Linked DNA regions of Homo sapiens: region 1 is linked to region 2. Evidence: promoter capture Hi-C in human tissues and cell types (Jung and others, 2019). All regions are on one chromosome and are shown on one strand. The core of a region is centred on a gene start or on the middle of the fragment in contact, and the rest is flanking DNA. Distances in the headings are between cores, read along the strand shown. Region 1 holds the start of GRM2 (glutamate metabotropic receptor 2). Region 2 overlaps LOC105377085 (a long non-coding RNA gene).

Evidence for each region. Contacts are between HindIII fragments. The study calls those that stand out against the background at their distance.
Region 1: the fragment with the promoter of GRM2 here is called in contact with a fragment that was not itself captured in region 2 in 2 of the 25 tissues and cell types used here (dorsolateral prefrontal cortex and mesendoderm cells).

The regions. Positions count from the first base shown.
Region 1 is chr3:51,705,161-51,709,869 of GRCh38, reverse strand. It overlaps GRM2 (glutamate metabotropic receptor 2), which reads right to left and starts at 2,802. Exons shown (of 6, transcript NM_000839.5): 1 at 2,703-2,802; 2 at 437-1,022. The coding sequence starts at 886. The HindIII fragment of the contact is 8,284 bases long and covers 1-4,709 here.
Region 2 is chr3:51,534,183-51,538,351 of GRCh38, reverse strand. LOC105377085 (a long non-coding RNA gene) reads right to left here. Exons shown (of 3, transcript XR_940835.3): 2 at 2,365-2,566; 3 at 1,683-2,193. Among named protein-coding and RNA genes, the nearest start is that of RAD54L2, 2.5 kb to the left of the region's middle. The HindIII fragment of the contact is 7,506 bases long and covers 1-4,169 here.

The DNA of each region.
Region 1 (4,709 bases), core at 1,553-4,052, 170 kb before region 2:
CAAGGGTGAGGGTGTGTGTGTGTGTGAGGGTGTGTGTGTCTGGGTGTGTGTGTGGGTGTGGGGGTGGGTGTGGGGTGTGTGTGGGTGTGTGGGGTGCGTGTGTGTGGGTGTGTTGGGTGTGTGTGGGTGTGTCGGGTGTGTGTGGGTGTGTGGGGGGCTGTGTGTGTGTGTGAGGGTGTGTGGGGTGTGTGTGTGTGTGTGAGGGTGTGTGTGTGTGTGGGAGTAATGAGAGTAAGATGTTCTCTTGCACAGTCTCTAAAAATCGACCACCATTATGTGACCAGGGCACTTTCTTAGCTTCTGTAAAAGCTACTGCAAGGAAGCTTCTAGTTTCCCTTCCAATTCACAGCAGCCCATGAGCCCCTTTTCAGCAGGAATTCTGGGTCACCACCTCCGGCCTCCCTCCCTAGCCCCCATTTGGGTGGCTTCCACGTACCTGGATGGAGACATCACTGTAGGAACCGCCAATAACACCAGTGATGGCAGTGGGAGCATCACCATGGGTCGCATAAGAGCCGTCGGGGCAGATGTGGCGTGAGCCATCAGCACCACGGCTGAGTGAGGCACGCACAAAGTCCAGTGCCTGCTCCAGCGCATGTGTGTCCTTGGAGCAACTGTCGAGGATGTGTGCACCCAGGCGCACGCCAGGCAGCAGGTGCGGGTCACGGTTGATGCGGTCCAGTGCAAAAAGCATGGCCTCCAGGCGCTGGATGCCACGGTGCTCATTGACAGGACCACAGTCCTCTGCTGGGCCGCCCTTCTGGTGCACTGGGAACAGCCCACCCAGCACCAAGTCTCCCTCCAGGGTCAGCACCTTCTTGGCTGGGCCCTCAGCCACAGCACCCCACAGCAGCAGCAGTGCCAGGAGCGCAAGCAGCGATCCCATGGCCCCAAAGGGGATGGATGGGTCCCGCAGACCTGGGTCTCCAGGGGATGAGATTAGAAGCAGCGAAGGCAAAGAGAGGAGGAAACAGGGACCAGGAAAGGACAGACAAGAAGAGAGATGCGAAGGGACCCAGCTCCTGCAGAGAGATAGAAAGACAGAAAAACAGACCAGGAAAAGTGGAACCTGAGAGCAGCTGCCCCTTCTGACTCTGCCTCCCCACGAGCCCCTTTCCTAGGTACTCAAAAGCCAGGGAGGGACAGGATGGTGTCATTAAGTAGGTTGAGAAGCTCCTGGGACTCCCCTGGACCTGTCTCTCAGCCCTGGCCTCAGCTTGGTGAGAGATGGGCCATATTCCCCTACCAAACTCAGCAGTGGGGAGAGATGCAAGCAGTGAAGTCCCAGGCAGAGGACAGGAGACCCCAGCCAATGCTGACCCCTCTGTAATTCAAAGGGTGTCCAAGAACAGCACAAACCTCCCAGGACCCCGAGGTCAATACCTTTGGAACAGACTATGTCACAGTCACAAACTCAGAGGTCCCCATCCTGAGCCTTGGATTTCCAGAGAGAAGGAACTGCTGTCTCAGGACCCACCAGGGAAGAGGAAGGGAAGCATCTCTAAGGGACAGTCTCCAACCCGTGGGGAGACTGGAGCCCATGTGAACACCCAAGGGTTCTAACCTTTGGTTCTTAAAAAGCCATCCCCACAGTTTGCTGACTGAGGAAGGAATAGAGACACTAAGCCCTGGGAATGAGACAGCAAGGTGGAATGGCTGGCCTCAGGGAGGGTACCCAAGTGGCTCAAGGTCCTAAGTCAACAGGGCAAGCAGATGTTCACGTATGTGTGTGTCAGGGTTGGGGGCTAGAGTCTCCAAACAGTGCTGAGGGTGAGAGTGCGGGACTCTCTAGCTCTGTGTAGAACACTGCTTGAGATTTTGTGCCTCTGTTTTCTCTTCACTCCCGACCCAGCAGAGAAAGTCACCATTTCCAATCTCCCCATCCTCAGCTTCAGGGCCCTGCCCACCCTAGCCATGGCCCTCAGAGACCCCCTCCCTGTCTCTTCCCCACTGCGTCCAATCATTTGTACCCCAGTTGCCTTCCCAAACACACACCCCACAAAGGCTCTCACAATCACACAGGCTTGGAAAGGCTGGGAGAGGGACATACCTCTTTCCTCAGAACAGGAAAGGAAACTGAGTTTGAAGAAGGGCAGCAACTAACTCAAGGACCCCATGTGCTGGCCACGGAGGCTGAGCCTCTTCATTTTGCCCCCTCAGCTCCCCAGGGCAGGGGCACTGGGCTCCTCTGGGGATCAGGAAAGCAGCAGCTTACCCAGGCAAGCGAGGGAGAAGCAGGGAGGAAGACCAGCACAGATGGAGACAGGGACCCAGATGGGGGCTGAAGCCAAAACTGGTCAAGTCGCAAGTCTCCCAGAGGGGAGGCCCAGACGGAAGCTCAGAGGCAGGAAGGGGACAGAAACCCGGAGTCAGACAGCCAGGAGCCTGGGCCACAAAATCTGGGCAGGGAGCGAGCAAGCCTGAGAGGTTGAGACAAAGACGGAGGCACAGACAGAAAGAAGGACCAGAGGACGCTGGAGCAGGAGGAACGGGGGAGTGCGATGTGGGGCGTGCGTTTTCTGGAGAAGAAAGGCGGGACGCCCGGGGCTGTCTTCCCGCTTCCCGGAGCTCTCAGGGAACGCTGTCTGGACACAGCAGCGCGGGCGCCCCACAACTTGAGGGCCCGCAGGACCCTGGGACGTGAGGTAAGGGCCAAAAAGGTCGGCAGCGGCAGCGGCACCACCACCACCGGCTCACCCTACCTGGCGCGCTGGCTCTGGCGCGGAGAGAATCGGAGTGGAGCGGGGGGCGCGAGGCTCCGGCTCCCGCTCGCTCGCTCGCTGGCTCGCTGGCTCTGCGCTCTCCGCCCGCCCGCTCGCCCCGCCGCTTTCAATCGCGGCCCGCCCCGCCCCGCCCCCGGCCCCGGCCCGCCCCCAGCCCCTCCTCCGTTCCTCCAGACGCCAGGTCTCCTGCTCCCAACCCAGCCTCCGCCTCCTCTGGACACTCCGCGCTCCAGCTTTTCTGGGGACCTCAGGGCCTGGAGCTGTCCGCCTCGTGGTGCTGAATCCCCGAGCGCTCTCGCTCTGCGCTGGAGCGGGTGCTTCGTGGCCCACTCCGCCCCATAGTCAGACTACCACCTAGAGAGCATAGGTGGGGGGCGGGGGGATGCCACGGGGCACGGGGTGGGGAAGGTCACTGCGCCCCGACAGGTGCCCATAGTGCTACTGCAGAGTGGAGGAGCTGGCCTTAGTGCAAGGGGTGCCTCTGGGGGATAGGTAAAGGGGCGCGTGGGAGACGGGTGGAGTCTATTCTCCCCACTCAGCGATTTCAGCTGGGTCCACATCCCAGGCCTGAGTTGGAGGCATGTGTCCTCTGCCACTTTTGAGACCTGGAGCCAGAGTCACTATGAGGAAAAGATTGGGGGAAGGGAGAGGTCAGAGGAGAATGGGGCCTCCCCTTCCTTCCTGCAGATGCCCTTTAAACCTGCCACCCACTCCCATGTAAAAAGGGTATTTAAGCAAGGAGAGAGCAACCTGCAGGAAGGGCTGCAGAACCAAGTACTAGGGTCAACCCTGAGGGAGTGTTAGGGATGGCAGGGGCATCTGGGAGGGGAGGGGCCTAGGGAAAGGCTTCTGGAACTGGCTGCTGCGTAGGAGGGAGTGAGAGCTGGAGCCCAAGCAGAGGGAGGACAGCTCTGAGAAGATTCTCTTGACTCTTCCCTCCCACAGCAGGATGGGGAAGGACGCCCCTGGGTAGAGGGTAGTGGATAAGCTGTAGTGCCAGACTGTGCTGAAGGAATGGGGATTAGAGAGCCTGTGCTATCTGCCCCTAACATGTGCACACACTAACAAGTGCCAAGGGGCATGGCATCCCTACACACATTCCCGACACTGCCCTTTCTTCCACAGGTGTCAGTGGAAGCAAGGCCAGCTCAGATACATGCTAATGAACATGCCAAGCCCAGACCCCTCAGGCACACACACCCACATGTGCGTGTGGCAGTCCGTAGGGGTGCGGGGGTGATCACCAAGGACGAGCTTTTTCCCTGGACACAGAAACCTGATGTCCTGCTGCTGTGGAAAGAATACAGCTTTGAAACGAAACAGACACATAAAACCCAAACAAACACAAGCCCCATCACTAACAGGAGACAAGGTGGCAGTGGGAGACAGACATGCTGTCTTCCACCTCCAACTCTGCCACCGGCTGCTCTCACCCTCTCTGGCTGCCTCAGAGCAACAGCTCCCTGGGGTAGGTGAGCAATGGGCCAGGCCTCTGGAGCAGAGGGGTTGACAGCAGGAGGGTGCTGAGGTGAGGAGTCACACACTCCTTCTAGCCACACTCCCAACCTGCTCAACAAGTCAGCCTCACAAAAGGCACAGGGCTGTAAACACAGATATGGCTGTGTACAGCATCAGCCAGAAAAGCCCATGATGTGGCCTGCAGCAAACAAGCTGCACAGTCGCAGCACATGGACACACAGTTACACACAGCTAGGCAGCCACCACTCCCAGCTGTGTGCACACGGATGAGGACATACACTTAGCCTTACACAGTTGTAAATGTGGACATGGCCACATGCATAGTACACATAAACATGCAACCACACACAGCTATACTTGTAGACAGCCATAATACACATGGGCACACCCCTGCCCCTAAGAACATGTGACCATGTCTACACACGGCTGCACATGTGGACACAGCCACATATATACAGCTGCTCACACAAGGACATGCCACAAATAGCTGTCCACCAAGACATGTCC
Region 2 (4,169 bases), core at 412-2,911:
AGCTCTACACCGGGGTACGATCGTTACTGATCCTGCCAATGCTGCTGCTACTGTTGCCTCCAACATAGGTTGTGCTCAGCCCTCAAGGGCCCTTGAAATTATGCGCATCATGTAACTCTTCTTTTTTCACCCTCGGTCCCCACCTACCATCCTGTTTCCTGTTAAGTGAAGCTGTCTTCAGAATTCCCTGGAAGAGAAGCAGAGGCAAAAGGGGGCTTTCTTGATTGCTGACACTCAGGTGGAGGTTAAGGGTGCAGGTTCTCCTTCCTCAAGTTGGGAATTACTGCCATGTGGCCATGTGGGCTCCAGTTACTGATGGGACTGTAACGGCTCTCTCCACTATAGCCTCAGGTTCTCTTCTCCTCTTCCCAATAAGTGAATGTTGACAAAATGATTTTTTTTTTTTTGAGAAGGAGTTTCGCTCTTGTCGCCCAGGCTGGAGTGCAGTGGCGGGATCTTGGCTCACTGCAACCTCCGCCTCCTGGGTTCAAGCTATTCTCCCGCCTCAGCCTCCCGAGTAGCTGGGATTACAGGCGCCCGCCACCACGCCCCGCTAATTTTTTGCATTTTTAGTAGAGACAGGGTTTCGCCATATTGGGCAGGCGGGTCTCGAACTCCTGACCTCAGGTGATCCTGCCCACCTCTGCCTCCCAAAGTGCTGGGCCACCAGGCGTGAGCCACCACCTCTGGCCGACAAAGTGATGTTTTAAATTACAAAAGTGCATCTTTCTTTGAAGGCTTTGTATTTTACTCATAAAATCAAGAGGATAGCAATTCCTTTCTCGTCCCCACTTTCCTTTTCTTCTAGGCCTTCACACCTCTAAGATACCAGATGCGGTTATTTTTGGAGCTAACTCTTGATGGGAATTTAGATCTGCAGAAGGTGTTCCAAAAAAAATCCTAATTTTCAGGTGTTCTCAAATTTCCCATTTTTACATACCCCCTTGGCTTCTGAGACACATATATGCCTGATTTTTCATTTATATTATTTTCTGGAGGTAATGAAAGGGTTCTGCCTGTCAAAAGGCACTTTGCTATCTAATATGGATCTGTGTCCCCACCCAAATCTCATGTTGAATTGTAATCCCCAATGTTGGAGGTGGGGTCTGGTGGGAAGTAATGGGATCATGGGGGTAGATCCTTCATGAATGGCTTAGCACTGTCCCTTTGGTTCTCTTCTTGTGAGTTCTCACAAGATCTGGTTGTTTAAAAGTGTATGGTGTCGGCTAGGCGCGGTGGCTCATACCTATAATCCCAGCACTTTGGGAGGCCGAGGCAAGTGGATCACCTGAGGTTAGGAGTTTGAGACTAGCCTGGCCAAAATGGCAAAACCCTGTCTCTACTAAAAATGCAAAAATTAGCCAGGCATGATGGTGTGTGTCTGCAATCCCAGCTACTCGGGAGGCTGAGGCAGGAGAATCACTTGAACCCAGGAGGTGGAGATTGCAGTGAGCTGAGATTGTGCCACTGCACTCCAGCCTGGGCAACAGTGAGGCTGTCTTAAAAAAAAAAAGTGTATGGCACCTCCCCCCACTTCTCTTTTCCTCCTACTCCAGCCTTGTGAGGTGCTCGCTCCCCCTTCGCCTTCCACCATGAATGTAAGTTTTCTGAGTCCTCCCCTGAAGCCCAGCAGATGCCAGCATCATGCTTTCTGTACAGCCATGAGCCAATTAAACCTCTTCTTTATAAATTATCCAGTGCCAGGCATTTATTTATAGCAGTGTGAGAACAGACTAATAGAGTGTTCCTTCTGGAAACAGCAGGCTCATGGGTTAGAAAGCAGCACAGTCAAAGCCTCTGGAAGCTTCTCCGCTTCCTCAGGTAAGAGGAACTTCATCCTAGGTTCTTCAGAGGCAAAGAATGCCTCAAAAGCTGGTTCCAGCCAAGTGCAGTGGCACATTTCTGTAGTCCCAGCTTCTCAGAAGGCTGAGGCAGGAGGCTCACTTGAGCCCAGGAAGTCAAGTTCAGCTTGGGCAATATAGCAAGACACTATCTCTTAAAAAAATAAATAAAAATTTTAAAAAGCTAGTTAACTTCTCTCCAGCAGCCTGAGGTCAGATCAGCATTCCGACCCCTCCCAGCTTCATGTCTTGCATTTTACTCATTTGGCCTCTTAGCTGGGACTCTCCGGGTGACACATAGAGCATATTTGGCCTCAGGAGTTGAAACAGGTTCACATGAAAGCCCCAGAGACTACCAAAGAGAGGAGAAAGAAACCAGTCAGGTTGGCCAGATATATTTAAACGCACACACACACACACACACACACACACACACACACTCCTATTGTTAATCCCCCCACCCCCATCCCCTGGCCCCCAATTAAAAGACTTAAGGCACAACCACCAAAACATAGACACTTACCTTTCTCATGTCACTAAAGTAGGAGCCACAAAGGCCAGAGCTAGCTCCCCTGGTGATGGAAGCCTCTTCCATTCCCTCCTCCCAGGATGGCATTGTCCTTCTGTAACATCTGTTTCCCCACCCTTCTAGAAATTCCCTGACTACTTGGATGATGTCATGCCCGCACAACAACCTCTGAGATTCATGGTACCCCAAAATTCACCTGTAGAAAGATTTGGTTCTATTAGGGGAAGTCCCTAGAGTGATTTATGCATACACCTGCCTATTGTTGGCTATACCTTTAAGTGAGTTTAAAAGATCTGGGACTGCCCTTCTGGGATTAGGCAAAATTCACCAGGGACTTGTTGGTTAATCAGAAACCAGAACAAGGTTTTCTTCATCACCATGAAAACACACATGGAAAAACACTCTCTTCATTTTTTTTTTTTTTTTTTTTTTTGAGATGGAGTCTTGCTCTGTCACCCAGGCTGGAGTGCAGTGTCGTGATCTCGGCTCACTGCATCCTCCACCTCCCAGGTTCAAGCCACCCTCTTCATTTTATCTGTTTCACCTCCTGCTTATTCCGTGAGAGTTAGATCAATCCTGCACCCACCAGCCACACTTAATGGCCCCCCCTCACTTCTGAATGCCAAAGCCATGATCACTCTGAACCAGATTCCAAGGTGACAAAGGGTTGTATTGCTTTCTTCAACAGTCATCCCATTCTTGGGATATTTTTACCTTTTCTGCTTGTATACCACTCATCACCCAGATTATAATGTCCTAGGAGATTTTTTAAAAATCGACCCCAGTATCTAATGACGGCCTAGCATAATTGCTACGCCATAAAATTCCCCATTCAGCAACTATTTACTGGGTACCAATATGTACCAGGCACTGGCCAGGCACGGTGGCTCATGCCTGTAATCCCAGCACTTTGGGAGGCCAAGGCGGGCGGATCATGAGGTCAGGAGATCAAGACCATCCTGGCTAACATGGTGAAATCCCGTCTCTACTAAAAATACAAGAATTAGCCAGGCGTGGTGGCGGGCGCCTGTAGTCCCAGCTACTCAGGAGGCTGAGGCAGGAGAATGGCGTGAACCCAGGAGGCAGAACTTGCAGTGAGCCGAGATGACGCCATTGCACTCCAGCCTGGGTGACAGTGCGAGACTCCGTCTCAAAAATAAATAAATAAATAAATAAATAAATAAAAGATGTACCAGGCACTGTACCCAATGCTGGGGAATACTAGTAAGACATGACAGGCATGACCATAAGCATTTTACAGTTATTAACTCATTTAATCCTCACATCAACATTCCACTTCAAAGGTGGAAAAATAAGCTGAGAAGTCAGAAGAGCGATGGGGTTTGAGTGCAGATCATCTAGGTCCAGAGCCCATGCTTATAACCATCCCCAACATGAATGAGGAAGTATGTTCAGAGTTGAGCCTAGAAGAGTGTGGTCTGTAGAATGTGACTAATAGAAACCTATCCTATATGGATGTTCATTCAAATGAACAGATGTTTATTGTTCCCCAGTTGTATTTCAGATGCTGATATGCCCTGGGGAACACAGCACTAAACAGGAGGGAACAGGTCTCTGCCCTCAAGTAGCTTACCTTCTAAACAGGTGAGAAAGACAGTACAAAATAATTGCAAATTCTAATAAGTTCTGAAAACACGAAACAGAGACCAGTATGGGAGAGAGGCTGTTGGAAGAGGGAAGGCATTGGGTAAGACCAACCCAATGAGGTGTCCTGTGAGCTGAATCCTGAATGCCAAGAATGCTAACGAGAACCATGTAAAGTCTCAGGGAAGAAGAAT